Linked DNA regions of Homo sapiens: all the other regions are linked to region 7. Evidence: promoter capture Hi-C in human tissues and cell types (Jung and others, 2019). All regions are on one chromosome and are shown on one strand. The core of a region is centred on a gene start or on the middle of the fragment in contact, and the rest is flanking DNA. Distances in the headings are between cores, read along the strand shown. Region 1 overlaps CDC42BPB (CDC42 binding protein kinase beta). Region 2 overlaps TRAF3 (TNF receptor associated factor 3). Region 3 has its middle 24 kb from the start of HSP90AA1. Region 4 overlaps TRAF3 (TNF receptor associated factor 3). Region 5 overlaps CDC42BPB (CDC42 binding protein kinase beta). Region 6 overlaps HSP90AA1 (heat shock protein 90 alpha family class A member 1). Region 7 holds the start of ANKRD9 (ankyrin repeat domain 9).

Region 1 (4,112 bases), core at 5-2,504, 440 kb after region 7:
TCCTGGGGCAGCCTCGGGGGCTGGTCCAAAGGCTCCTCTGCCTCTGCTGCTGTGCACACCCCTCAGTGCACCAGGGCTCCAGCTGGGCAGCGCTTCCACCTGGGTCCTCGCGCAGCAAGGCCCTGGGGTGATCTGGGCCTCCTTCCAGCTCATCCCCGAACCAGAGGGCCCTCACGCTGCACATGAGGGACAAAGAGCTGTCCCCAACCCACTGGGACCCTGAGACAAATCCTCTGAAGACGCTGCCCTCACAGGGCCCCCAGTGAAGACACTGCCCTCACACTCACACGGCCCCCAGTGAAGACGCCGCCCTCACACGGCCCCCAGGCTAACCCAAGCCCCTCGCTTGCTCAGATCTCCCCACAGAGCTGCCAGGGTACGGCCTCGCCCAGCGGCTGCCCCGCCCTTCTCGCTCCACGGCCATCACATGCAGAGATGCTGGGTCTGTCGGGAAAGGACTATGGCTCACATGAAATGTCGCTGGATTCCTTGAGGGATGCTCCCCTGGGCCCCTGCCCCCTGCCCATGGCCAGTTCCAGTCTCCTGACGTTTCTGCTCCTAGACCCAGGGCTGTGGAGCGGGTGCATGCCAGGATACCTTTGCCCTTCCTCGCTGGGAAGACTGAAGTGTCAAAATTGGAAGCAAAGAAACTAAAGCTTCTCAAGTGAAGCCTCAGCACATGTGGGAAAGCTGCAGCTGTTCCTCCTCCCAGGGGGCTTTCCTTGACCCCCCACCCACTCCCGCTCAGTGCTCCCCTTGAAGAACTCGATGGATGTGATACGCAACTTAGCACCGCGTCGCCATGCACTCGATGCCGGTCTTCACGGCACGCTGGCCCCTCCGGCGCCTTCATCAAGCGCATTTGTCTTAACCCTTAGGAGCTACTGACCCTGTGCTGTCTGCAGAGGCCAGGCTGGGCCTGTGACATCCCAGGCTGGAAACGCCCTGCTCACTCACCATCTCGGGTGACCTCTATGACATAGAGCCCTTCTTCTAGGCCGACTGCAATCCTGTCTGCATCTGTGGAGGGGTAAGTAACATACACAAAGTCAGTACAGCCGACCGTGAACAATATGGGTTTGAATGCGTGGGTGGGCTCATTCACAGATACTTTTCAACCATATGTGGATGAGAATACAGCATTCCAGGGATGTGACACTTCAGTATCGGGGGTGACTTTCTCTCTACACGAACTCCACAGGGCCGGCTGACTGTGGGATTGAGTCTGCAAGGATTTGGGTGTGTGTGGGGCTCCTGGAGCTGACCCTCAGGCTTAGCCGGGGCCAACTGTACTGTCCGCACAGGTCATCTGCTTTTTTTTTGAGACGGAGTCTCGGTCTGTCGCCCAGGCTGGAGTGCAGTGGTGTGATCTCGGCTCACTGTAAGCTCTGCCTCCTGGGTTCATGCTGTTCTCCCGCCTCAGTCTCCCAAGTAGCTGGGACTACAGGTGCCCGCCACCACGCCCAGCTATATTTTATTTTTATTTTTATTTTTTTTTTTAGCAGAGACAGGGTTTCACCGTGTTAGCCAGGATGGTCTCAACCTCCTGACCTTGTGATCCGCCCGCCTTGGCCTCCCAGAGTGCTGGGATTACAGGCGTGAGCCACCGCACCCGGCCTCGTCTGCTTCTTAACATGCATGGAGAAACTGTCTACAAACCCAAATGGACCTGTGACCTTCATCTGATTTTCAGATGGGCACTGCAGCGCCGCCGGAAGTGCTGTTGCTTCAGACACCTGAAGGACACAACCTTTGGGACGTACCCACGATGGCAGCTGTCAGGATGGCCTTGATGAGAGGCAGCGAGCTGTCGTAGGCTTCCAAGGGAACATGCACGACCTGATTCCTCAGCCGGTTTTTATGAAGGATGGACTGGAGTCCTTCTAGAATCCCAACCCACTTCCTCTTTTCATTCTCATTTTCTGTCAGAATGAGCAGCGAGCTGGTCTTAGAAGGTGCACCTAAGAGAGAGGCCGTCACCTTCATGACAGGAAACAGAAGAGAAGAGAGAAGTCATCAAACGCCAAAGCCGCACGCAGCTACCACGGCCCTGCTGGAGCCACGCACCCCAGGAGCAACGGGGGCTGATGTGCTTCCCAGGCAGGGACCCCTGACTCCACCTCGCTGGGCGCCTTGCAGAGGCTCCCGCGGCAGGACACGGAAGGGGCGGGGTTCTAAACAGCCCCGTGAGATCGCTTCCTGGTCCCATTTTCGTTAATTCTGCTTTTGTCAAAACTACGAGTAGCTGCCTACTTTAAATCTGCTTTCTTGAATAATCATTATAAAAGTAGATTCTGAAAATGTGTCCAGGAAAAGCAGATCTCAAAAACACTGGCCCAAATCATGCCTCCCTGTGAGCAGCCTCTGAGCACGCATGCTACCAAATGACCATCGTTCCAGTAACAATGATGGTAATTTCCTGTACTGTGTATGACAGGGTTGTTTCTGAATAGAGCTGTGATTTAGTAAAAGCTAATTTATAGACTTAGTTTTGTTATCAAAATTTTGCTGTTTATAAGAAAATTCCCAGTGGAGGGGGCTGGAGGGTTTCTTTCCCCAATTCAGTCTTCTAGGAACGTCCTAATGCTACAATGTCTAACACTAACTCAGTGAGGGAGCACTCACTCAGTCAACAAAAACGCTGGCTCCAATTGGCTGGGGGGCACTGGAGAGGCACCTTCATGCCTAACCTGCCACAGCGCCCGCCTGGCAGTGCACACGCTGTGAGGACAGTGGCCGGGACGTGGACTGAGTGGAAGAGGAGTTTCAGATGTAGGAGAAGGGAGGGTCAGTGAAGAGGGGTGTCTGGGAAGAAGCCAGCCAGGAGGCTCCCCGAGACGGGCACAGGCTGCTACTTGGCCAGGACGGGACGCACAAGGACCTGGAGCCAGGCTGGAGGTTGAGACCCTAGGGCCACACTGGAGGTGCGCTGATGGCTGCCGCAGCACAATGACATGCCTAGAACAATCAGTTTTAACCATGTGCTTTGTTAAAAAGATTAATGAAAAATTCATACCCTGAATATACATGGAATATCTCGGCGTGTAGCATGAATGACATCTGAGGCCAGGACTGAGCTCACGGAAAACTCGTCATCTCTGGTAAGGAAGAAACATTGACCCCGCTGGGAGACACGCGCACAGGACCCAAGGCCCTCCCACGCCCTGCCCTGCCCTGCCCTGCCATGTCCTTCCACCACCGTGTTCTGCAGTGGAGGGCGGGTCCCTCGCCTCCCCAGATGTAAGAAACACGGGCAGGGCCAACAAACTCAAGACTCTGGCAGGTGTTTCAGGGCTTAGGGATGCCGCAAGGGAAACCCCGGAGCCTCATCCCCACTGTGCTGGTGCCTCCAGACTATGCCAGTTACAGAAGACTCGGTTTGCACTTGGCACAGCCAGGCAGTCCCTCCAACAGCCAAGTGCAGAGGACAAGTGGGGTGAGGGGTGTGGAAGTGAGGGGGGAGTGGGAGGGAGTGGGGGGTGGTGGGGGGTGGGCGTGGAGGTGACAGGGGAGTGGGGGGTGGGTGTGGAGGTGGAGGGGAGTCGGGGGTGGGGTGGGGGTGGAGGTGAGGGGGAAGTAGGGGGGTGGGTGTGGAGGTGAGACGGGGAGTAGGGGGGTGGGGTGGGTTTGGAGGTGAGGGGGGTGGGGGGTAGGTGTGGAGGTGAGGGGGGAGGGTGGGGTGGGTGGAGAGGTGACGGGGAGGGTGGGGTGGGTGTGGAGGTGAGGGGAGGGTGGGGGGTGGGTTTGGAGGGAGGTGAGGGGGAGTGGGGGGTGGGCTTGGAAGTGAGGGGGAGTGGTGGGTGTGGAGGTGAGAGGGAGTGGGGTGGGTGTAGAGATGAGGGGGAGTGGGGGCTAGGTGTGGAGATGAGGGGGTGGGGTGGGTGCGGAGGTGGGGTGGGTGCAGAGGTGGGGGGGTGGCTGTGGAGAGGGGGAGTGGGGGGTGGGTTTGGAGGTGGGGGGGTGAGGGAGTGGGGGTGGGTGTGGAGGTGAGGGGGGAGCAGGGGGTGGGTGTGGAGGTGAGAGGGGGAGCGGGGTGTGGGATCAGTGTGGAAATGCTGTTCTGAAGAGGTTCCCTAAAGAGTGCTGAGCCCTCCGATGGGGCCCCTGACTTG
Region 2 (3,998 bases), core at 291-2,790, 300 kb after region 7:
CACGATCTCAGCTCACTGCAGCCTCCACCTCTTGGGTTCAAGTGATTCTCCTGCCTCAGCCTCCCGAGCAGCTGGGATTACAGGTGCGCGCCATCACACCCAGCTAATATTTATTTATTTATTTATTTTGAGATGGCGTCTCGCTCTGTCACCCAGGCTGGAGTGCAGTGGCGCGATCCCTGCTTACTGCAGCTTCTGCCTCCCAGGTTCGAGAGATTCTCCTGCCTCAGCCTCCCAAGTAGCTGGGACTACAGGTGCGTGCCACTACACGCGGCTAATTTTTTGTATTTTTAGTAAAGACTGGGTTTCACTGTGTTAGCCAGGATGGTCTTAATCTCCTGACCTCGTGATCTGCCTGCCTTGGCCTCTCAAAGTGCTGGGATTACAGGCATGAGCCACTGTGCCTGGCCGCACCCGGCTAATTTTTGTATTTTTAGTAGAGACGGGGTTTCACCAGTTGGCCAGGCTGGTCTGAAACTCCTCACCTCAGGTGATCTGCCTGCTTCAGCCTCCCAAAGTGCTGAGATTACAGGCGTGAGCCACCGCGCCTGGCCTAGAGTGACTTTCTTAAAGCTCTGTGTCTCCTGGAAATGGAATGTATCCCAAATGAGGATTATTTTTAAGCTTTATAATAAAATCTTTCACAGCATAGACTTTTTTTTTTTTTTTTTTTTTGAGACGGAGTCTTGCTCTGTTGCCCAGGCTGGAGTTCAGGGGCGCAATCTCGGCTCACTGCAAGCGCCGCCTCCCAGGTTCATGCTATTCTCCTGTCTGTCTCCTGAGTAGCTGGGACCACAGGCGCTCGCCACCACACCCGGCTAATTTTTTGTATTTTTAGTAGAGATGGGGTTTCACCATGTTAGCCAGGATGGTCTCAATCTCCTGACCTCGTGATCTGCCCGCCTCGGCCTCCTAAAGTGCTGGGATTACAGGCATGAGCCACCGCGCTTGGCCCACAGCATAGACTTTTAAAGACCATGTAGGCAAGAACAGATCTTTAAAGGGAAACCTCAGTTTGGCTTTTGAAAGTTCATCTGATTGAAGTTAAACTGATGAAACATACTCCATCCATGCATTACCAAAAACGTTGGAGCACGGCATGGCAGTAGTATCTAAAACAGATTGGCAAACTATGGGTCTAAGAATAGTTTTTATGTGTTTAAAGGATTGTAAAAATAAGCAAAGAAGAATATGTGACCCATGAAACATAAAATAGTTACTGTCTGGCTCTTTATGGGAAAAAAGTTTGCCAACTCTTGGCTTAAAGGGTCAAGAATGCTTTACCAAAAAACAAACAACCCCCTCCCCCCTACAACTGTAATGTTTGAGCAGGAGTTTTACAAGATAAAGAATTTTGATCTTGAGGGGATTTGGGTGAGGATGGGGCGGTGCAGTGGGAGAGAGAGTATAGATACTGTTCATCACACCCAGTGCAGTCGGCTCTGGTGGGAACATAGGGTGACCTCAGTGTGTGGTGAGGACAGTGATCATGGCCCCTTTTACAAGTTGAAGCTTAGTTCTGGAGTGGTGGACCATCAGAAGCTTTTAAGTAGGAGAATGTCAATGTCATAAATTAGAGTTAATTGTGAGAAATTGAAATAAGTATTCCATTTTTTTCTGAGATGTGCTCTCCTGAACTTATAAAGTAGTTCTTCAGAAGTGTTTGCAGTGTTCACAAGACACTGGCTCTGTGGTATTTGACATGCAGATGGGCCCAGAATTCCTGACTTAAGGCTAAAGATTTATCTTGAGCTTATCATGATGTGGGCTTATGATTGTTTTGATCAGCAGCTGACATCTGTGAAGCCTCAGTGATCCTATAAATTGAGGAACCTGAGAGAATCAAGAGAAAGACAACAATTCTTGCTGATGTCAGTAACTGTATTTCACCTGTTAAACTTCTGCATGGAGGAGGTCAGTGTTGTCTGCTGTGTCAGCATCAGCCTACCTGGGTGTGGACGTATTCTTTGGGAGATGAAACGTAGAAAAGGTACCCCGAGTCCATTACACATTCTGGATTCCCAGAAATAAGACATCTCTGAGGGCAGAACCTTTACAGTCACTTACATCAAGAAGGAATTCTTCAGGAGAAAGCTCGGTAAAGGTATCTTAACTTTGTATGTATACCCAGAGAAAACACATAAAGATAAAAATAAAATAATTTTCCTCATTATCCCCACACCATTAGCATCTTGGTGTATAGTCTTTGCATCTTTTTTCAGTATGTATGCACTTAGATCATCTTGTAGGACGCCAGTCCCATGCATTATACACTTTGTATCTCACAGTGGAGTGGAGGACAGCCTGATCCTTAAGGGGATGCCGAATTGCTGCATCCCCATGATTTTTGCTGCTTTGATTCTTCTCATGAGCCCCGTTGCTGCTGTCTGTATTAGCGTCCTTCTGAGCAAACAATGGGTACCTTTTTTTTTTTTTTTCTTAAGAGAGAGTCTTGCTATGTTGCCTCAGGCGGGAGTGCAGTGGCTATTCACAGGTGCTGTCGTACTGCCCTGGATGATAGTACACTGCAGCCATGAAGTCCTGGGCTTAAGCAGTTTTCGCCTCAGCCTCCTGAGTAGCTGGGACATTAGGCCCGTGCCGCCATGCCTGGCTCTTGACCATTCCCACAAGCCACACCTACAAGGAGCTCAAGGAGCTGTTTGCGCTGTAGGCGGTTTTTTTTTTTTTTTTTTTTTTTTGGTTTTTGTTTGTTTTTGTGCAGAGGTCAGATCTCTTGTCTCATAGTGCAAAGGCGATGAAGGCCTTCATTACAGTCTCTCAATTTGACTCTCAGTTTGATCGGAAGTTGCTAAGATGGGCTGACATTGTGAGGAGGATACTGCTACAGCAGTAGTGTGTGTGTGTGTGTGTGTGTGTGTGTGTGTGTTTGTACAGACTGTCTCACTCTGCCACCCAGGCTGGAGTGCAGTGGTGCAGTCATAACTTACTGTAACCTTGAACTCGTGGGCTCAAGTGATCCTCCTGCCTCAGCCTCCCGAGTAGCTAGGACTGTAGGCTTGTGCCACCATGCCTGGCCCTTTTTTTTTTTTTTTTTTTTTTTTTTTTTTGTACAGACAGGGTCTTGCTGTGTTGCTAAGGCTGGTCTCAAACTCCTGGCCTCAAGTGGTCTTCCTGCTTCAGCCTCCCAAAACACTGGTATTACAGGAGTGAGCCAGAGCACCTGGCCTGAAGCTATATATTATTGTTAACTGCAGTCATCCGACAGTGCTATAGAACACTAGACTCTGTTCCTGTCTAGCTCTCTCCCCATTTTTCCCATCCTCCTACCCTTCCTAACCTCTAGTATCCTGTGTTTACTTTTGACTTCTGTGAGATCAACTTTTTTTAGCTTCCACATGTATTAGTGAGAACATGTGGTGTTTAACTTTCTGTTTTTGGCTTATCTCACTTAATATAGTGTCCTCCACTTCTATCCATGTTGCTGTGAACGACAGGATTTCATTCATTTTTATGGCTAAATAGTAGTCCATTTTGTATAGATACCACATTTTCTTCATCTGTTGTTGGACACCTAGATTGATTCCCTGTTTGGCTATTGTGAATAGTGCTACGGTAAATATGGGGTATAGATGTCTCTTTGATGTCATGATTTCCTTTCCTTTGGATAAATTCCCAGTAGTGGGATTGCTGGATCATATGGTAGTTCTATTTGTAGCTTTTGAGGAAATTCCATACTGCTCTCCATAGTGGCTGTACTAGTTTACATTCCTACCAATAGTGTGTAAGAGTTGCCTTTTCTCAGGCCGGGCGTGGTGGCTCACGCCTGTAATCCCAGCACTTTGGGAGGCCGAGGGGGGCGGATCACGAGGTCAGGAGATCGAGACCATCTTGGCTAACACGGTGAAACCCTGTCTTTACTAAAAATACGAAAAATTAGCCGGGCACGGTGGCGGGCGCCTGTAATCCCAGCTACTCAGGAGGCTGAGGCAGGAGAATGGCGTGAACCCAGGAGGCGGAGCTTGCAGTGAGCCGAGATA
Region 3 (4,130 bases), core at 1,356-3,855, 400 kb before region 7:
CCAAGTTGAATATCCCTGATACGGTTTGGCTGTGTCCTCACCCAAATCTCATCTTGAATTGTAACTCCCACAATTCCTACATGTTGTGGGAGGGAGCTGGTGGGAGGTAACCGAATCATGGAGGTGGGTCTTTCCTGTGCTATTCTCATGATAGTGAATAAGGCTCACAAGATCTGATGGTTTTAAAAATGGGAGTTTCCCTGCACAAGCTCTCTCTTTGCCTGCTGCCATACATGTAAGACATGACTTGCTACTCCTTGCCTTCTGCCATGATTGTGAGGCTTCCCCAGCCATGTGGAACTGTAAGACCATTAAACCTATTTTTCTTCCCAGTCTTGGGTATGTCCTTACCAGCAGCATGAAAATGGACTAATACAGTAAATTGTTACCAGCAGAGTGGGGCACTGCTGAAAAGATAACCCAAAACTCTGGAAGCAACTTTGGAACTGGGTAATGATGAAAGGTTAGAACAGTTTGGAGGGCTCAGAAGAAGACAGGAAAATGTAGGAAAGTTTGGAACTTCCTAGAGACTTGTTGGATGGCTTTGACCAAAATGCCGATGATGATATGGACAATGAAATCCAGGCCGAAATGGTCTCAGATGGAGATGAGGAACTTGTTGGGAACTGGAGCAAAGGTGACTCGTTATTTTATTTTTTTTTGAGATGGAGTCCTGCTCTATCATTCAGGCTGGAGTGCAGTGGTGCAATATCAGTTCATTGCAAATTCCGCCTCCTGGGTTCAAGCGATTCTTCTGCCTCAGCCTCCTGAGTAGCTGGGACTACAGGTGCCTGCCACCACGCCTGGCTAATTTTTTGTATTTTTAGTAGAGACAGGGTTTCACCATATTGGCCAGGCTGGTCTCGAACTCCTGACCTTGTGATCCACCTGCCTTGGCCTCCCAAAGTGCTGGGATTACAGGTGTGAGCCACCGCACCCGGCTGACTCATGTTACGTTTTAGCAAAGAGACTGGTGGCATTCTGCTCCTGCCCTGCCCTAAAGATTTGTGGAAATTTGAACTTGAGAGAGATGATTTAGGGTACCTGGTGGAAGAAATTTCTAAGCCACAAAGCATTCAAGAGGTGGCTTGGGTGCTGTTAAAGGCATTCAGTTTTGTTTGTTTGTTTGTTTGTTTGTTTGTTTGTTTTTGAGAGAGTTTCACTCTGTTGCCCAGGCTGGAGTGCAATGGTGTAATCTCGACTCACTGCAACCTCTGCCTCCCGGGTTCAAGCAATTCTCCTGCCTCAGCCTCCCAAGCAGCTGGGATTACAGGCGCCCACCACCATGCCCGGATAATTTTTTTTTTTTTGAGACAGTCTTGCTCTGTGGCCCAGGCTGGGGTGCAGTGGCACGATCTTGGCTCACTGCAAGCTCCGCCTCCCGGGTTCACGCCATTCTCCTGCCTCAGCCTCCCGAGCAGCTCGGACTACAGGTGCCCCCCACCACGCCCGGCTAATTTTTTTCTATTTTTTAGTAGAGATGGGGTTTCACCGTGTTAGCCAGGATGGTCTCGATCTCCTGACCTCGTGATTCACCCGCTTCTGCCTCCCAAAGTGCTAGGATTACAGGCGTGAGCCACTGCGCCCAGCCCAATTTTTTGTATTTTCAGTAGAAATGGGGTTTTGCCACGTTGGCCAGGCTGGTCTCAAACTCCTTACCTCAGGTGATCCACCTGCCTCTGCCTCCCAAAGTGCTGGGATTACAGGCATGAGCCACTGCACCCAGCCAAAGTATTCTGTTTTATAAGGGAAGCAGAGCATAAAAGTTTGGAAAATTTGCAGCCTGGAAATGCACTAGAAAAGAAAATCCCATTTTCTGAGGAGAAATTCAAGCTGGCTGCAGAAATTTGCTTAAGTAACGAGGAGCTGAATGTTAATTTCCCAAGACAATGGGAAAAATGTCTCCTGGGCATATCAGAAGTCTTCACGGCAGCCCCTCCCATCACAGGCTTGGAGGCCTAGAAGGAAAAAATGGTTTTATGGGCCGGGCCCAGGGCCCCCTTGCTCTGTGCAGCCTAGAGACTTGGTGCCCTGAGTCCCAGCCACTCCAGCCATGGCTAAAAGGGGCCAAGGAACAGCTCATTGCTTCACAGGGTGCAAGCCCCAAGCCTTGGCAGTTTCCACATGGTACTGAGCCTGCAGGTGCATGGAAGTCAAGAATTGAGGTTTGGGAACCTCTGCCTAGATTTCCCTTTTCATGTTCCCTAGATACAATGGGGGTACAGGCATTGGGTAAATACACCCCTTCCAAATGGGAGAAACTGGCCCAAAACAAAGCATATCCTTTCACAGCTTCTTGAGAAGGGGCACAAAGAGGGTAAATTGAAACCCTGCATGTCCCACAATATCTTTATTCTAAACTCATACTTGAGTGATATATTGGTTTAGTTATAAGCTGGAATAAATACTTCCTCAGAATTTTGAAGCCATTTCTCAATTGTTCTCTTACATTCAATAAATTTTTACTGAGACTCTAGTACATGCCTGGCACTGCCTCTAGGCACTTGGGATCCATCAATGAACAACAGAGGCAAAGATACATCAAGATAGCATAAAAGAGCTTTTTTTCCTACTTGTGTTATGGTTTTCAGTGGTGGTGTTTACAAGTCAAGCTATTCTGATTACTGATCCCTTTTATATGACATTTCTTCTCTCTGGAAGCTTGTAGGATCTTTTCTATTCCAAGTGTTCTAAAATTTCAAAGTGATGTACCTTGGTATAGATCTATTTTTATCCATTCTGCTGGACACTTGGTGGGCTCATCCCCTCTGTAAACTCATGTTCTTCAGTTCTGGAAATTTTACTTGAAGATTTTGTGGATAATTTCCTCCTACAGTGTTTGGAGTTTGGACCTCTTAGATTCTCTAGGTGGTCTTCTATTATATGCTCTCTCTCTCTTTTTGAGACGGAGTCTCACTCTGTTCCCAGACTGGGGTGCACTGGCACGATCTTGGCTCACTGCAGCCTGTGCCTCCTGGGTTCAAGCAATTCTCCTGCCTCAGCCTCCTGAGCAGCTGGGATTACAGGTGCCCGCCACCACACCCAGCTAATTTTTGTTGTATTTTTAGTAGAGATGGGGTTTCACCATGTTGACCAGGATGGTCTTGATCTCTTGACCTTATGATCTGCCTGTCTCAGCCTCCCAAAGTGCTGGGGTTACGGGCGTGAGCCACCGTGCCTGGCTCTCCCTTTTTTTTTGTTTTAAAAGAGACAGGGTCTTGCTCTGTTGCCTAGCCTGGAGTGCAGTGGTGTGATCATAGTTCACTGTAATCTTGAACTCCTGGGCTCAAGAGATCCTCCCACCTCAGCTTCCTGAGTAGCTGGGACTGGAGGCACACACCACCATGTGCAGCTAAGTTTTAAATTTTTTTGTAGAGATGGAGGTCTCACTATGTTGCCCAAGCTGGTCTTGAGCTCTTGGCCTCAAGGCATCCTCCTGGCTTTACCTCTCAAAGTGCTGGGATTACAGGCGTGAGCCACTGTGCCCAGTTGATTTCAACTTTCTCTTCCAACCCTTCTAGCATTTTAATTTCTGCTGTTAAGTTTTTAATATTCAAGAGGTTTTTTATTTTCCTAAGTTTTTTACAAGAATGCAGACCGTTCTTATTTCATAGATGCAATATCTATTTAAACTACTAATATTAGCACTTGTTGTAAATTCGCATCTCCCTGTACAGCCTGTTTTCTTCAATATTATTTTTTCTGTTCATTTGTGTCATTTGTTTTGTTTGTATTTATTTATTTATTTTTTTGAGATGGAGTCTCACTCTGTTGCCCAGGCTGGAGTGCAGTAGTGCGATCTTGGTTCACTGCGACCTCTGCCTCCCGGGTTCAAGCGATTCTCCTGCCTCAATCTCCCAAGTAGCTGGGACTACAGGTGCCTGCCACCACACCTGGCTAATTCTTGTATTTTTAGTAGAGACACGGTTTCACCATGTTGGCCAGGCTGGTCTCGAACTCCTGACCTCAGGCAATCTGCCCGCCTTGGCCTCCCAAAGTACTGGGATTACAGGTGTGAGCCACCGCGCCCGGCTTGCTTGCTTGCTTGCTTTCTCTCTCTCTCTCTCTTTCTTTCTTTAATTAATTTATTTATTTTTGAGACAGAGTCTCACTACGTCACCCAGGCTGGA
Region 4 (4,366 bases), core at 876-3,375, 340 kb after region 7:
GTACTTCAGAGGTGCGTGATGCCCTCACCAGGAGGCACACATCTGCACTGATGTGAGATCCAGTGTTGTTGTTGTTGTTTTTTCCTTTTGTCTTTTTTATTTAAAAATCATGGGGTCTTGCTATGTTGCCCAGGCTGGTTTTGAACTCCTGGCCTCAAGCAGTCCTCCCACCTCCGCCTCCCAAAGTATGCTGCAAGCTTAAGCCATGGCGCCTGGCAGATCTAGTGTTTTTTGAAATCTCATGTTTTATTCTAACAATTGATCGAAACATTATAATCTGCTTCTCAATATGGCCATGTTTTATGCTTTTCACGTCTTCAAATACAGTTGACACTCCAGGAAGATGAACCTTATCACATTTGCAACTTCTGCCCCTTATACAGCCCCGGGGCTCCAGCCCCATGTGGCAGGCGTGACCTAGGGGAAGCCTCCATCTGGAGAAGTGCTGCCTGCACTTGGTTGCATATCGAGTGGACTGAGCCCTTGGCTCCTCTCGCTGCTTCCTGTCCAGATGGCAGGACTCTGGTCGTGGGCCAAAAGAGGCACAGTGTCTTTGCATATAATAAGGATTGAATGAATACTTTTTAAAAATCCTAACTCTTATGAACCAAGGGATACTGACAATGCTGGGCCCCAAATAACTATTGTTTTCTCAAAGGCTTTAAGACCATGTGTTATACTGTGATTTAATCAGGTTCTTTCCTAGGAGTCTGCCTGAGTCACTTGGTCTGTGTGTCTCTCCCTCCCTGTCCTAAGGGGGCTTTTCATGTGTGACTGTGTTCTGCCTGCCTGTCTGGTAAGAATCCAGCCTCCTGTTACTTGCCCAGGATGCTGACTGTGGGCCCTCTCCCGCAGTGGAACATTTGGCATCAGGTACCAGGAACAGAGTCAGTATGCTGAAATGTTTGCATGAATGTGGATTTTCAGAAAGCTTTCTTATCAGCAGGGCACACCTGTCTGTTCGTGATCTTTGCCCTTCTCCCTTTATTGGCATCACTTGGACGATACCTTTAATTGCCCTGCTGGGCTTGATGTTGAGCTGCTTTTCTCCATGTGTGTCGTGTTTTGTGCTTTCTTGCGGCAGGAGCCTTTTGCTTTGTTTATCTGATGCTTCCCTTTTTTGGTTTTCCCCGGGCTTTCCAGCTCTTGGAGCACCCTTTTGTCAGCAGATGTACTTTTGTTTCCAGTTTTTAAATTCTAATTACAGTGTAACTCAACTAAAATCATGGAACTGGGGAACATAAAACAAATCATTAGGGTAATGGAGGCATAGAAGAAAGTGAAAGGAATCCAGTCCACCTCTTTGCTGTACTAGGTATGGATATGCCTCAGCTGTGAGTGAGGGCCTTCCTGAGTAGCTGACTACAAACTAAACTTTTATGAAAGAATTTTCTTAAATAATTAGAGATGCCTTTCATTTAGCTAAAAACAAGACCTCAAAATACAGTAAATTCATGTCTAAGACTGTAGCAAACAGTAAGTAAAGTAATAGAGTAAAAATTCTGCTTAAAGAAGACTGCAGAATAAGAATTGCAGGCCGAGCGTGCTGGCTCACACCTGTAATCCCAGCACTTTGGGAGGCCGAGATGGGTGAATCACTTGAGGTCAGGAGTTCAATACCAGCCTGGCCAACATGGTGAAACCCTGTCTCTACTAAAAATACAAATAGTTGGGCATGGTGGCACACACCTGTAATCCCAGCTACTCAGGAGGCTGAGGCAGGAGAATCGTTTGAACCTGGGAGGCGTAGGATTGAACCAAGATTGCGCCACTGCACTCCAGCCTGGGCGATAGAGTGAGACTCCGTCTAAAAAAAAAAAAAAAAAAAAAAAAGTTACAGCGCTCAGAGTGCCAGATGCTGCGCTCCTGGTAGTTTCTGGTCTTGGCCCTTCCTTAGCTCAAAGTGCACTGGCATAGGTGCCATTTTTTAGTCACACAATTCCCTTCATTGTAATTTTCTTAGCACTGTCTTTGCTTAGTGGATCTGTTGTTGCCATTCAGCAGTACATTTCTCTCTGTGTGGAAGCAAACATCTTCTCAAACCTGATGCTCAGTGAGGATAGGCAGTGGGCTATTAAATAGGCAGTGGCCTCAGATTCCCAGCATGTGTATGATTGCCGTGCTAACCAGAGGCGCATGTGTCCAGCATCTGGGCATTGGAACCTGCAAGCTGCTCCCCCAAATCAGGATGCCAAACATTAATTGGCAAGTTACTAAAAGTTGCCTCAAATACCATCTTTAATGCATTTAACTGAATTTGCATAATTTTTCTTTATCAGCACAATAATTATTATAAATATTGTAGAATTGCCATTAACTTATAATTGTCATATCTAAATTTTAGGATAAAAATAGAACTTAACTATTTTTATACCCATATATAAGCAAGTGAAGTAAAGGTATTTATGTTTAAATCAAGAAATCTAATCAAAGGTTTTTACAATCCTTCCAAATATGCAATCTCACTTATTTCTTGCCACTTCTGGTGATAGGTCTGTGTGTGGAAGACACGGGATTCCTGCCTGTCCACAGCTCAGTGTGAACGGACCAGATATGGTCACAGATTAGAATTTACCATCACAGGGCCGGGCGCAGTGGCTCAGGCCTGTAATCCCAGCACTTTGGGAGGCCGAGGTGGGCGGATCACGAGGTCAGGAGATTGAGACCATCCTGGCCAAGATGGTGAAAGCCCGTCTCTACTAAAAATACAGAAAATTAGCCAGGCCTGGTGGCGGGCACCTGTAGTCCCAGCTACTCAGGAGGCTGAGGCAGGAGAATGGTGTGAACCCTGGAGGCGGAGCTTGCAGTGAGCCGAGATGGCGCCACTGCACTCCAGCCTGGGCGACAGAGCAAGACTCTGCCTCAAAAAAAAAGAAATTATCATCACAGGCCTCGTGGGTGGTTCGTGTAAGAGGCTGAGGCAGGAGGATTGCTTGAGCCCAGGAGTTCGAGACCAGTCTGGGCCACATTGGCGAGACCTACCTGGGCAACATGGCGAGACCCTGTCTCTACAAAAAATAGAAAAGTTAGCGGGGTGTGGTGGTGCATGCCTGTAGTCCCAGCTGGTTGGGAGGCTGAGGCAGGAGGATCGCTTCAGCCTGGGAGTTCAAGGCTGCCGTGAGCCATGTTTGCACCACTGCACTCCAGCCTGGGTGACGGCAAGAAAAGAAAGAAAATAAAAGAAATAACCTCAAAAGAAAAAAAAGAAAAGAAATTACCTCAAAAGAAAATAAATTACCCTTACAGACATTTTATTTTTATTTTATTTTTTTTACAGACAAGGTCTCTCTCTTGCTCAGGCTAGACTCAACCTCCTGGGCTCAAGTGATCCTCCTGCCTCAGCCTTCTGAGCAGGCACTACAGGCACACGCTGCCATGCCCGACAACCACCACAGATAATTTAGAAAAAATTAGCCTTTTAGTTTTAGGAGCTTTCTTTTACAGTGATATTTAGTTTGGGGCCTTTGAACTTGGTCTTTGCTTTTGGAGCTGTACTTGTAGGTGTTGTTGTTCCAGCCTGGGAACGAGACATGACCGACTCCAGTGCGGCCTGCTTGCTGTCCTCACCATCAGTCAGTGTGGTCCGTGTGTGAGGCTGCAGTTGTCCTCTTGGCCACTTATTTCTCCTTAATTCTCTGCATGTAATTTAAAACATTATCCCCTGAAACTTAGTTTTTCATTGACTTCTAATATCTTTACTTCTCCTTTTAATTTTCCTATTGAGATACTTAGGATGACATGAAATTCTTTGGATCTACATATGGACAAACAGAATTGTGTCACATAAGGTTCAGTGTGCTAGCTGTTTAAAAAAAATTAAAAACAGTTTGTTTTTTTTAGAGACAGAATCTTGCCCTGTCACCCAGGCTGGAGTGCAGTGGCGTGATCGTAGTTCACTGTAACCTTGAGCTCCTGGGCTTAAGCAGTTCTCCCGCCTCAGCCTCTTGAGTAGCTAGGACTCACAGGCATGTGTCACCATGCCAGGCTAATTTTTATTTTATTTTTATATTTTATTTTTATTATTATTTTTTTGAGACAGAGTCTCACTCTGTCGCCCAGGCTGGAGTGCAGCGGCACAATCTCGGCTTACTGCAACCTCCACCTCCTGGGTTCAAACGATTCTCATATTCTCCTGCCTCAGCCTCCTGAGTAGCTGGGACTGCAGGCTCACACCACCACGTCCGGCTAATTTTTGTATTTTTAGTAGAGACAGGGTTTTGCCATGTTGGCCAGGCTGGTCTTGAACTCCTGACCTCAGACGATCCTCCTGCCTTGCCTCCTAAAGTGCTGGGATTACAGGTGTGAGCCATTGCACCTGGCCTTTATTTTTTTTTAGAGGCTGACTGAGTTTTGCTGTGTTGCCAAG
Region 5 (3,806 bases), core at 141-2,640, 460 kb after region 7:
AGTCACATTTCAATTCAAATCTAAACCTAAACTGATGGAGCTGGAGCTAGTGACTTCAGGCAATTGGCATCTTTTCGCTGAATACAAACATCCTATTTAAAAGACCAAACACATGACTCCATTCAAAAATTAAAACAGTCACGTGTAGTGAAACAGCAAGAACACGGTCTGAGAAACGTGTCCTTGCACACACAGCGTGAATGCACTCACGCAAGCCTAGACGGTGCGGCTGCCGCACACCAGGCCCTGTGGTACAGCCTGTCAATTCCAGGCCCCAAGCCTGCATACCATGTTGCTGTGCGGGACGCTGCCGGCGGCTGTAGCACAATGCTAAGTATCTGTGTATCTCAACACAGAAGAGGTAGAGTAAAGTACAGTATTATGATCGTACGGGACGCCTGTTGTACACACAGTCTATCATTGATGGAAGCATCGTTATATGGCACATTACTGCACTGTAAAAAGACACCAAACTTCGGCCGGCGCAGTGGCTCATGCCTGTAATCCCAGCACTTTGGGAGGCTGAGGTGGGTGGATCATGAGGTCAGGAGATTGAGACCATCCTGGCTAACACGGTGAAAACCCGTCTCTACTAAAAATACAAAAACTTAGCCAGGCGTGGTGGCAGACGCCTGTAGTCCCAGCCACTTGGGAGGCTGAGGTGGGAGAATGGCATGAACCTGGGAGGCAGAGGTTGCAGTGAGCCAAGATCGCGTCACTGCACTCCAGCCTGAGCGACAGAGCGAGACTCCATCTCAAAAAAAAAAAACCAAACTTCCAAGACTCAAGAATGACGACATTCTACTCCCCCATAAATATATATACCTACTATGTACCCACACAAATTAAAAATAATTTTTTTTTAAATTACAACTTCCACACAAAGTGCTAACTCAGGTACTTTGAATTAATTACCTTTTCATTTTCAGCAGTTAGCTTCTTGTTTTCATCAAACAGCATCGCTCTTTCTCGTTCGTATTTATCTTTTATTGTACCTACTGCCTCCTCCATCTCGTTATGCCTGCCAAGGTGAGCGAGAAACAGTTTTAAAAGCTCGTAACTTCACTGATATTCGTATCTATGGCGTGGGTATCAGCTTGCATCTTCTGAACTGAGAAGCTCATGAAAACCTACCGTTCTCGCTTTGACTTTTCTAACTTATCTTTTAACATCAAGATTTCTTTCTGCAGGGCCAGCTGGTGGCTTTCTGAATCATGCACCTCCTTCTTCACATTTTTCACTTCTAGCACATGGGAGGCCTCACGTCTGACCAATTCCTCTTCATAAAATAAGACTTTCTTCTCCAGCTCGGATTTGATTTTGGAAATCTCTTGCTGGTGCTCTAAGGTGGCACCCGCTCCCCGGCCTCCTTGCTTCACCTGAAGACAAAGGTTAACATAAATTGACAAACCTCTGTGTCCTCAAGGGTCACACTGTCCTTTCAACCCCTTTCATCCCAAGCAAGTGCAGACACCTTCCCAAGGACTGTGTGTGCCTGGTCTACACCAGATGACGTAGCTGACCTGGCTAACGTGATCCAGGTTCTAGGGGGTCACAGCAGGAGACGGCCTTGCAGGGGGATGTGCCCAGGTCTGCCTGGGACCCCCGAAGCTCTGCCCCACACCCTGTTCATTCATGCTTGCAGCATTCTTCTGAGGGCTGACTCTGTGCTGGGCCCCCTCCTTGTGACTGGGGTGACACTGAGGTCTCTGCTCTCTTGGGGCTGGCGGGAACTGACAGCAAACCAGTAAAGGGGCAGAGGGGCCGTGCACCCCAGCCAGGTTGTAGGGAGTGGAGGGCGTGCCAGGATGGCTGGGGCGGCTTCTGTAAGGTGCTGGCCTATTAAGTGAGGTGTCAGGCTAGGGGCAAAGAACAAGGGCACAGGCTGGAGTGAGGTGGGACGTGTTGGCAGTGTTTGCAGCATGCAGAGAGGCCAGTGTGTCTGGTGTGGCGGGGCAAGGAGGGGCAGGAGAGGCACTGCTGGGCTGGAGCAGGCAGGAGGGTAGCTGCTGGACAGCTGCGGAGCCACGGAGGCCCTGCCGCACAGGAATGTGATCCGGCTTTGGTCTGCCAAGCTCACTCTGCCTGCTGTGCAGAGAGGAGACTCAAGGGCTGAGAAAGGGGCAGGAGCCTCGGGCACCACATGCCGAGGTCCAGCCAAGCCCGCTGCCAGGGAGGAACAGCATCTCAGGCCCACGTCCCAGAGGAAGAGTTGCCAGATCACTGAGGCGAAGGGAGAGGGCAGACCCATCGCACGCGGCTCACACATGAGGAGATCCAGGCCACGCCATACTGCCAAGGAGATCCGCCTCCGGCCCCTTGCCCACTTGGCCACTGTGGCCTTCCCCACTCCCGCCCTCCGCGGCCTCCCTGCTACCCTCCAGCCCCACCAGTGGGCCCCGACTGATGGCCAGCCTGTCTCTTCCCCAGTCAGCAGCAGGCTACGGGCTTTAAGGAGCTTTTCCAAAACTCAACTGCACCGAATTTAGAATACCACGATGTGAAGAAGGCTATGAATTGATGGGGCTGGAGTAGGAAATGAGCCAATTAGATATTCGTTTCCTAGGACTTACTGTGAATTGCCTGAAACTTTTATATAACAAAGGAAAAACATGAACTTGGCCTTTAAAAATGAAAGCAGTCACGAAGGCAGGGGTCACACCCCCCACCTCTCCACATGTGGGTCTTGTCTGAACAGCCTCGGGTGACACTCGGCCCGGACCACACATTACACAAGGTGACTTCCATGTGGTGGCGTCAGCAAAGATAAGCATCCCTCTCAGTTAAGGGCAGAGACCCCCGCCCAGCACTACCTTGAGGGCCTCCAGCTCGCTTTCCATTTGCTTGCAGAAGTTCTCGCTGTGCTCACGAAGCTTGCGCTCCTTGGAGGCCTCAGCAACAGCATCATCAAGCTGAGCTTCCAGCTACAAAAGGAAGATCCAGTTTCTATTAACAAAAAGCGAGCCCTGCTTCACCAGTTACAGCAGCACCCACGGGACCTCCACAAGAACAAGACCTCGAAGGAGCTCTGCGCGTGTTCACCCTTCATCAAATCTTATCACAAATTAAAGTTTGAGAAATACACTTCTGGGTTCAACTGGGATGGTTGGTTACTAATAAAACAAGGTTCAATTCTAGCTTAAATTGACACTTAAATTTCAAGAAAGGATACATTTCTTGAAATTTAAATTTCACTGATTCGTGAAAACCAGTACTTTTGATATCTGTAGAACTTGAATTCATTTATTAAATGGGCCATTTCAAACACGCACACGAAGAACGAGCAGAATAGCGAACACACGTGCCGGCACCCAGCTTCAACAGTGAGCTCCCGAGCCAAGCCCGCTTCATCTCTGCCTGTGCCCAAACCACTCGAGGGCAATCCCAGGCACTGTTATCACTTCCCCCATATGTGGAATGCTAATTCCTCATTAGGGGTATCACTAACTTCAGTTTTAACTGCCTGTAACTACAAATATATTTGGGTTGCAAAATAGACTAAGAAGAAAACAAACAGGTCCTCTGGGGCTAAAGAACAAAGAGCCCTGAACTTGAAAGGAACAGGAGCATGTGCTTCCAGGCCTTCTCATTTATGGGATTTATCAAGGAAATTTTAATAGAGTTCTAAACTAAGCATCGCTTACAATATGTCAACCATTCACAGCAGAACACTCAGAACACCCAGGGCGGCACAGGGCTGCAAACCCTGGGGTCCTGAGACATCAGGGGTGTGCAAGGCCCTTCCTTTCCTAATTAGCTATCTGTGGGGGCCAGGATTTCTTCATGTACTTTATCCAGAACGGTGT
Region 6 (4,187 bases), core at 163-2,662, 430 kb before region 7:
TTGGTAGATTCCTTATGAGTTTCCTACCTAGACGACCATGTCATCTATAATTCTCTTGTCCAGTTTGCATGTCTTTTCAGCACTCACCACCCTCCCTGGCAGGATGGAACTTGATTATGGAAGGTTTGAAACAACAGTGAATTTTGAAGCAATAGGGTAAGAATTGTGGTCCTGGAGCAGTGCAAGGGCATTTTCAGCATGACATTCATGTGTCATCTAGCTCATCTTCTCACTCACTGGGCTGGGGATCCATCTTCTTGGTGGTACAGTCTCCAGCATGGGGGTTGCTGGGAGATGGGTACTTACCTGTGCATCTGGACCTATTTGCCATAAATGCTTTCCCAGTAACTCCAGGAGGATGAGTTCATTTGGGAGATCATTTATAGAGGTTCTATATTGACTTGATTCCCTCAAGTGCCTTATGTTTTTAATTGAAAGAAATCTTAAGATTTAATATTCTCTTGCTAGACCTGGGAAAAAACAAAATTGACTTTTTACCCTTTTTGCCATTCACTTCCTAGTTTAACACCGTAAACCTTTCTTCTAACACCTTTCAGTACGCAACAAAACTTAGCAGAATAAAATGGGGCTTTGGAGTTAAATTTAAATTCAGCCACTACTAAGACCTCAATTTACGTAATTCCTCCTGTATATTATCGAAGGGGATTAAGAACTTTTCAGAGAATTTAAAGGACTAAACGTGATTGCCATTTACCAAGCATTCAATACCTGCTTAGCACGAGACTGAGACAAGGTCTCTCCCTGCCTGTGCACTGCCCCCTTAGACACTGTCACATATCCAAGTCCCAGGCATTTCCTATCATTTTTATATATGGCGTTAGGCTCAGAATGCAAATCCTATATGCTATCTAACCAAGTTTTGTCTCTAGAACCACCAAATTTCAGAAGTGAAGACTTTTATTTAGCCATTACCACCCCCAGTCCCCAGAGGGACTCTTACCTATTGGGCTGATTTTTTCATCTTTTTTTTGAGATGGAGTTTCGCTCTTGCTGCTCAGGCTGCAGCGCAATGGTGCAATCCCAGCCCACCGCAACCTCCGCCTCCCAGGTTCAAGCGATTCTCCTGCCTCAGCCAGGATGGCTTTAAGTAGATTTGTAAAGAACTTTGAGACACTGTAAGGCCAAGGAATTAAGTGACTGTATTTAACACAGAAGGTATTCCATGAATAACATCAAAACAACGTGGACACTAAGAGAACACATGTAACTCATGGACGCAGGGGATGCATGTTGTCTGCATTCCTGTTTTCTGTGCCTACGTGTGCTCCACCCCACACCTGCTGAGTACATGCTGGGAAGACCATGTCAACCCTTGGAGCAGCTAGTGTTTAACCATCTCCTGCTAGCGCCTCATGTTTTACATTTTGGCACTAACTGTCATCCAGATACTCCCCTTTCCCCCTAAATAAGACACTGTCACACAATATCTTTTAACTCATCTGTATTTGTTACAACTTTAAGCAGAATGTGACTCGAGCACTACATTTCCATCCACAAGACTGGGTCTGAGTTATTTTTGAACAGCTTTACGATATGCTTAGGTAGGCTTTTAACTTTGCTCCTCCAAACAATACTTTTCTTTGGAAAACAAGCCCTGTGGAGAGATCCTTCCATCAAGTTGCTTCAGTTTAACCTATTTCTAGAGGACTAGTACATGCAGAATTGTCAACTACAGGGAATGAAAAGTTCAAAAAGTAGATCCTACAAGATGTAACGAATACTTTTCTAAACATCAAGATACAGCTCAGAACACTTCAATAACAAGATTTGGTCTACTTAGGCATCCGGCTTGACAGCTAAACACTTTAGACCACAAAGTTAACATCATGTTACATACGTCTTACAGTGCACGTTACCCCAATCTGTGAAAATAAACCAACATGAAACTCAAAAAGCATTACTAGCTCTGCTTTAGTGCCTAAGGTATCACAGCATCACTTAGTAGACAGAAATCTTATCTTCCCCTTAAAGTAGTTGTCATGCCATACAGACTTTTTAATATTAACAAAAATAAAGAAAAACATCCTTGAAAATATATTATCAGAGGAATTGTAGAGTACTGAACAGGTAAGTCATCCCTCAGCCAGAGATTAGTCTACTTCTTCCATGCGTGATGTGTCGTCATCTCCTTCAAGGGGTGGCATTTCTTCAGTTACAGCAGCACTGGTATCATCAGCAGTAGGGTCATCTTCATCAATACCTGTTTCCAAAATAAAATCCTCATATTACAAAGATTTCTTAAAGCCAGCTATTAGGGTAATACTCTTGGTTTCTATCTGCTTTCAAGACAGTATTACAGGACATATGAGTCTCAATTTCATTTCTTTGCTCTTGTAAGACCTTACTTATCCCTAAAAAAAACATACTTTAATACCTCCAAGCAGCAAGCAGGACAAGGTGCTCCAAGTTTGGATAACTGAAAGTTCACCATTTTCTTCAATGTCACGTGTGTTTATTTTCTTTTTAACATTACATAGTATAAGGCTTACCCAGACCAAGTTTGATCATCCTGTAGATCCTGTTAGCATGTGTCTGGGGATCTTCCAGACTGAAGCCAGAAGACAGGAGCGCAGTTTCATAAAGCAAGATGACCAGATCCTTCACAGACTTGTCGTTCTTATCAGCCTCTGCCTTTTGCCTTAAGGTCTCAATAATGGAATGGTCAGGGTTTATCTCCAGGTGTTTCTTTGCTGCCATGTAACCCATTGTTGAGTTGTCTCTTAGGGCTTGAGCTTTCATGATTCTCTCCATGTTTGCTGTCCAGCCATATGTGCTTGTGACAATACAGCATGGAGATGTCACCAATCGGTTTGACACAACCACCTGTAATCAAAAAGTGATGACTAGGAACCTAGAAAGATTAATTCCTAAACTTTCATTGTGAAATGAAATCTGTAGAACCCAAATTTCAATAGATCCAAAATACTATCTACTGTCAAATACAACTTAAATGTCGCATTAGGTATCCAAAGAGCACAGGTTATAATTTCATGTTTTACATGCACAATTTTTTTTTTGAGATAGAGTCTCGCTCCATCACCCAGGCTGGAGTGCAGTGGTGCGATCTTGGCTCACTGCAACCTCCGCCTCCTGGGTTCAGGCGATTCTCCTGCCTCAGCCTCCCAAGTGGCTAGGATTACAGGCCGTGCCACCACGCCTGGTTTATTTTTTTCTATTTTTAGTAGAGACTGAGTTTCACCGTGTTAGCCAGGATGGTCTCGATCTCCTGACCTTGTGATCCGCTGCCTCAGCCTCCCAAAGTGCTGGGATTGCAGGCGTGAGCCACCGCGCCCAGCCACACACAACATAGTTTTCTGTTTTAAGTTGAAAACATGCGAAAATGGGCTATGTATGACTAAGCTTGAAAGCACCTTAGAAGTATCAATGATCAGGAAATGCTGTATTCACATACCTTTTCAACTTTTTTCTCCAATATGTCTTTCATGATTTTGCAGAGGTTCTCAAACTTTGTTTTTTTCTCTTCCTGCTTCTTTTTCTCTTCTTCATCCTCTGGAAGTTCCAGGCCTTCTTTGGTGACTGACACTAAAGTCTTCCCCTCAAATTCCTTCAGCTGTTGGACACAGTACTCATCAATGGGCTCAATCATATAGATCACTTCTAAGCCATGTTTCCGAAGACGTTCCACAAAGGCTGAGTTAGCTACCTGGTCCTTGGTCTCACCTGAGGTATTACAAAGTTACTTTTAGACCTTTTAACAGTTAAGAATGGTTTCATCTAGCTCTGACTTTTCTTGCTAGCCAGATACCTAGGCAGAACCTAAGACAGAAAATGACCTAGTTCATGTTAATTATCTTGCCTAGATCAATACCAGTTGTAACAGTGCTACCTGAGTAGAAAACACACCCACAGAGCCTACAAGATTGTAAGAACGACGTGTATGACTGTAACATAGTGTTCTCTTACCTGTGATATAATAGATATGTTTCTGGTTCTCCTTCATTCTGGTGCAGTAGTCCTTGAGAGAAACCATCTCATCACCAGAGGCAGATGTGTAGTACCTTAACAGCTCTGAAAGCTTCTTCCGATTTTGAGAGTCTTCGTGTATTCCAAGCTGAAACAAAGTATGTTCTTTACAAAGACTTTCTGAATTAAAAAAAAAAAAAAAAAACTAAAGAGGCCAATTGGAAAACTAATGGTTATTTACA
Region 7 (3,788 bases), core at 800-3,299:
CGCGCATATCCTCCAGCAGCCACACGGGTAGCAGGTCGCGCACCGCCTGGTAGAAGGCGAACGACGACTTGCGGCACTGCTTCTGCGCTCGCGAGCGCGCCGCGCCCGAGGCCTCGGGCCCGCCGTCCGCGCCACCCCCAGGCCGCCGCGCGTCCCACGGCATGCTGGCGGCGGGGCGTTCCTGGGCCTCAAGGCATGGATCCCGCGAAGGCACACCTGCGGGGAAAGGAAGAGGCCACGGTGAGGCGCGGGGAAACTGGGGAGGCCCGGGGACTCCCCTCTGCCCCTCACACAGCCCCTCCGGTCCTGGCCCACCAGGCCTGTACCTACCTCCAGCCTCGGCCAGGCCCTTCCAGTCACCCTACAGCTCCATCTCTCCGACGCCCAGAACCACCGCCTCCATCCTTGATCTAGCTGTACCTGTTCTCCCTCCTTGAAACTGACTTGCTCTCTGGCACCTCTGCTGGAAATGCCCTTGCTGCCCATGCCCTCAAATCTCCCCTCCCCTCTCCAACCCAGGGACCCACTGGAAGAGCTTCTGTTCCCACCTAAGCCAGGTTCATACGACCCCAAATAAAGAAAAGGCCAGGGAGGGGATGAGAAAGCTTGGGCCCACATCTCAAGCTGAGGCAAATCCACTCTCCAGCCCAAGCGCAACCCTGACCCTGATCTCCGACCCCAGACCACTTGGAGGCCCCTGGAGCCTCTTCCTGGGCTGTTCAGAGGCATGATCCAGACTCAGACCTACCTGGTTCCTGCACCGCGATCACCTAGTTCCGGGGATGTGGGTATATCACAGTCCCTGGCCGAGCCTCAGCTTTATCTGTAAGAAAGGGGAGGGGTGGACGACGGCTGTGCGGGCGGGGTGAGCCTGGGGCGTGGCACCAGCCCTCTATCCAAACATGTTTGCTTACACGTTAGCTCCTGGGAGGAGATAGGAGGGTGAAAACAACCTGGAGACCGGTGTGCACCGCACTGCACAGTCTGCCATCCTCTTCAGGTCCCATACCTCTCTTGATCTCCCCGACTACTAGATGAAGCGGGTACTGCCATCCCACTTTCCAGCAGGGCACAAGCTTCTCCAATTCTCCAAGGTCAGCAAGCCACGGCAGAGCCAGGCCTAGAACTCAGGTCCCCTGCGTCTCAGTTTGGGCTCATTCCAGAATTGGTGGGGACCCCCAACCCACAGGCAATCGAGCTTAGGCCCTGACCCTGCCCTCTGAGTCCCCAGCCCCGACCTGAGCCTAGGCGTCTGACCTCTGGCTCCGTCCCAACCTCCCTACTGCCTTCTTTCAAGGGTAAGCCCTTGGTCACAAGGGGCCTGGGACAGAAGGCAGGCCGCGTCCACACACACTGACTGGGTCACTATCACTGGCAGTAACTGAGTTAAAGAGAGCGGCGCGGTGCGGGTAGGCTGTGGCCCGTGGGCAACACCGTGACTGGAGCCCCTTCCCCAAGCCTGGGCCTCCGGGCCCCAGATATGCCCTGTGCCGGCACGCGTGGGGCGCCGGGCGGGTTACGTAAAGTTCGGCCTCCCCACGTCACCGGGCAGAGTCACGGCCGCGGCTCGTGAATAAGGGGGTTGGGCCATCGAAGGCAGCGCCGCGCCCGGGGCCACCCGCCACCTCCTACCCGTCCCCTCCCGGCCTGCACGGCCAGACGTCGGGCGGCGGAGGGTCGCGGGGCCGAGCGGGGCGTCCGCGCGCAGGTGGCCGGCGCAGCGAGGGCTGCACCTGCGTGCGCGTGTGCCGGAGGAGGAGGGGGCGGCGGCCGCGGGCGCGGCGCGGGGGACGGGGACTCACCATGGGGGGCGCGGGGGCCACAGGCCGGGCGTCCCCGCCCCTGCCGCGGACCGGAGCGCGCGCTGTCCCCCGCGGGCGAGCGGGCAAAGGTCCCACGACGGACGCACGGGAGGGAGCCACCGCCGCCCGCGCCCGCCGCAGCCGCGCTCTGAGCCGCCGCGGCCGGATCGCAGGGCGGCGGTGCCGTCGCCGGCGGCGGGCGGCGGGCGGCGGGCGGCGGGCGGCGCAGTGCGGCCCCGGCCAGGCAGGACAGCGGGACCGTCCGCCGCCGCCATTGGCCCGCGCCGCCGGCCCCCGCCACCACCCATTGGCCGCCGCGCTGCACCATTGTTACGTCACTGGCCGGCGGGCGGGGCGCACCGCTGGACCCGCGGAAAACTTCGGAGAAACTTGAGGGAGCGCCGGCGGGGAGAACGGAGAGGAGGGGCGGGGCCGTGGCGAAAGGGGCGGGGCGTTGATGGGCGGGGGCGGGGCTCCCGGAACCCGAGCTGCGGGCGAAGAAAGGCTCCGAGCTCCGAGCTGCCCTAGCCCGGGAGGGCGCCGCTGCTCTGCGAACTCGGGCGCGCGCGTAGGTGGCCCGCCCTCCGCCGTGCGTGACTTTCCTCGTCGCGTCCAGCTCCCCTTTTCTTTGACCTTACGTGACCTTGGGAAAAACCTCCAGGCTGCTACCCCATCTGCACATGGGAGGGCCGGGGGTAGGAGCCGCGACCCCTAAGGGCTCCACCGCCTTCTGCCCGGCCAGGGTCGTGCCTGGCGCGCCCCCGCTCCAGCTGACCCGCGCAAGGGAGGGAGGGGCGGACGGATGGGGACAGCTGTTTAGGAGCGCGCACTGCGCCCATCTCGGCCTCAACACTCATGTTTCCACTTCGTTTCACGACCACCAGCCACAGTGGACACGATGATCCCCAGTTCACCCGCCAGCAAATCAGGGCTCAGAGAGGTGGCCTCAAAGAGAGGAGCGGCCAGGAGGGAAGCCGGGGGTTTGCCCTGCGGTTCTTCCCACATCTGGGCGGGATAGATTCGATTGGGCCTCGGCCACCCCCACCGTCTCCGTCGGGGGTTCCAAGGTTTGGGGTCATGACCTAGGGGGCTTAGGAGCCTGGGTCCATCTCAACTAATTTATGGCCTCACTCGCCCCCAGCGGCTGGGAATTCTAGGCCCATTTTACAGATGTGGACGCAGATCTGGAGAGGGGCAATGACTGCTCAACCCCCCACCCATCCTCCCAGACACGACCTTCCACCTGGAATCCCCCCACACACGTTCTCAGAGGCCAGGCAGCCGGGGTCTCATGGTGAAATCCCCACATTCCATGCAGGGGCTCTTTCTGGTTCCTTCCCTAGAATGCTGTCCCTGCCCTTCCAGTACTATCTCACCAGGGAGACCCTCCCACTCCCCCACTCCGCTCCAACCAAGCAAGGCCTCTGCCTCGCCCCGGTGGGAGGGGCCTCGTCCAGAGGGCACGCCCCTGCACACACAATCAGCCCTGTCCTGGCTTCTCTGTGTGCCCCAGCCAGTCAGTCTGGGTGGAAGTCTTACCTGGGCCCTCTCAACAGACCTAGGCAGGCCTCTGTCCCCAGCCCAACGAGCTCAATCCCTTAAGCACACACGCCACAGAGCAGTCCTGAGAGGCCAGGTGGACAGTACCATGAGGCAGACAAAGCTGTGAGGCCCAGAGAGGGTCAGGCCACCCCAGCCCAGGTAGGCACTCACATGTATCCTGCCCAGGCTGCCATGCATGGACCCACCAGGGGGATGACCAGACCCCACCAGCCCTGCCCCACCTCAGGGCGGGGGACGTTCCAGGCCACGCCATCTCTCCCAGGGAGTCCATGGCAACTGCCAAGCTTACAGCAGCCAGGTTGTCAGCAGGAGTAGGGGTATAGAGGGCACTGGGCCTGGCATCCGCACCCGCCTTTGCCTCAGCTCCACATGTCTCCTCCTGTATCTAGGCCTATCTCCCTAGGGCTTCTCCCATCTGCCGGT

Evidence for each region. The method cuts DNA at HindIII sites, captures the fragments that hold promoters and counts their contacts. A contact is called where the count stands out against the background at its distance.
Region 1: a contact is called between a fragment that was not itself captured here and the fragment with the promoter of ANKRD9 in region 7, in 2 of the 25 tissues and cell types used here (adrenal gland and dorsolateral prefrontal cortex).
Region 2: a fragment that was not itself captured here is called in contact with the fragment with the promoter of ANKRD9 in region 7 in 3 of the 25 tissues and cell types used here (H1 embryonic stem cells, dorsolateral prefrontal cortex and hippocampus).
Region 3: a fragment that was not itself captured here is called in contact with the fragment with the promoter of ANKRD9 in region 7 in 1 of the 25 tissues and cell types used here (spleen).
Region 4: a contact is called between a fragment that was not itself captured here and the fragment with the promoter of ANKRD9 in region 7, in 1 of the 25 tissues and cell types used here (mesenchymal stem cells).
Region 5: a fragment that was not itself captured here is called in contact with the fragment with the promoter of ANKRD9 in region 7 in 2 of the 25 tissues and cell types used here (dorsolateral prefrontal cortex and mesenchymal stem cells).
Region 6: a contact is called between a fragment that was not itself captured here and the fragment with the promoter of ANKRD9 in region 7, in 1 of the 25 tissues and cell types used here (dorsolateral prefrontal cortex).

The regions. Positions count from the first base shown.
Region 1 is chr14:102,944,705-102,948,816 of GRCh38, forward strand. It overlaps CDC42BPB (CDC42 binding protein kinase beta), which reads right to left. Exons shown (of 37, transcript NM_006035.4): 27 at 3,017-3,098; 28 at 1,764-1,980; 29 at 958-1,020. Among named protein-coding and RNA genes, the nearest start is that of AMN, 24 kb to the left of the region's middle. RefSeq lists an enhancer at 441-1,640. The HindIII fragment of the contact is 4,076 bases long and covers 1-3,292 here.
Region 2 is chr14:102,808,876-102,812,873 of GRCh38, forward strand. All of the region lies in intron 1 of TRAF3 (TNF receptor associated factor 3), which reads left to right. Among named protein-coding and RNA genes, the nearest start is that of TRAF3, 33 kb to the left of the region's middle. RefSeq lists silencers at 809-968, 2,778-2,887. The HindIII fragment of the contact is 3,490 bases long and covers 1-3,285 here.
Region 3 is chr14:102,109,290-102,113,419 of GRCh38, forward strand. It overlaps a transcript of HSP90AA1 not described here. Among named protein-coding and RNA genes, the nearest start is that of HSP90AA1, 24 kb to the left of the region's middle. The HindIII fragment of the contact is 6,059 bases long and covers 1-4,130 here.
Region 4 is chr14:102,848,880-102,853,245 of GRCh38, forward strand. The region is part of intron 2 of TRAF3 (TNF receptor associated factor 3); the gene reads left to right. Among named protein-coding and RNA genes, the nearest start is that of AMN, 72 kb to the right of the region's middle. The HindIII fragment of the contact is 5,301 bases long and covers 1-4,366 here.
Region 5 is chr14:102,967,338-102,971,143 of GRCh38, forward strand. CDC42BPB (CDC42 binding protein kinase beta) reads right to left here. Exons shown (of 37, transcript NM_006035.4): 14 at 2,814-2,924; 15 at 1,135-1,379; 16 at 916-1,021. Among named protein-coding and RNA genes, the nearest start is that of AMN, 47 kb to the left of the region's middle. The HindIII fragment of the contact is 7,838 bases long and covers 1-3,806 here.
Region 6 is chr14:102,079,601-102,083,787 of GRCh38, forward strand. HSP90AA1 (heat shock protein 90 alpha family class A member 1) reads right to left here. Exons shown (of 11, transcript NM_005348.4): 8 at 3,946-4,093; 9 at 3,434-3,702; 10 at 2,511-2,844; 11 at 1,142-2,221. The coding sequence ends at 2,112. Among named protein-coding and RNA genes, the nearest start is that of HSP90AA1, 5.4 kb to the right of the region's middle. RefSeq lists an enhancer at 4,120-4,187. The HindIII fragment of the contact is 4,613 bases long and covers 1-3,719 here.
Region 7 is chr14:102,507,727-102,511,514 of GRCh38, forward strand. ANKRD9 (ankyrin repeat domain 9) reads right to left here and starts at 2,050. Exons shown (of 4, transcript NM_152326.4): 1 at 1,803-2,050; 2 at 915-1,120; 3 at 749-823; 4 at 1-216. The coding sequence starts at 163. It overlaps LOC105370679 (a long non-coding RNA gene), which reads left to right and starts at 2,317. Exons shown (of 4, transcript XR_007064352.1): 1 at 2,317-3,788. RefSeq lists silencers at 838-999, 1,994-2,433, 2,594-2,643 and enhancers at 2,124-2,767, 2,768-3,413, 3,414-3,788. The HindIII fragment of the contact is 3,197 bases long and covers 841-3,788 here.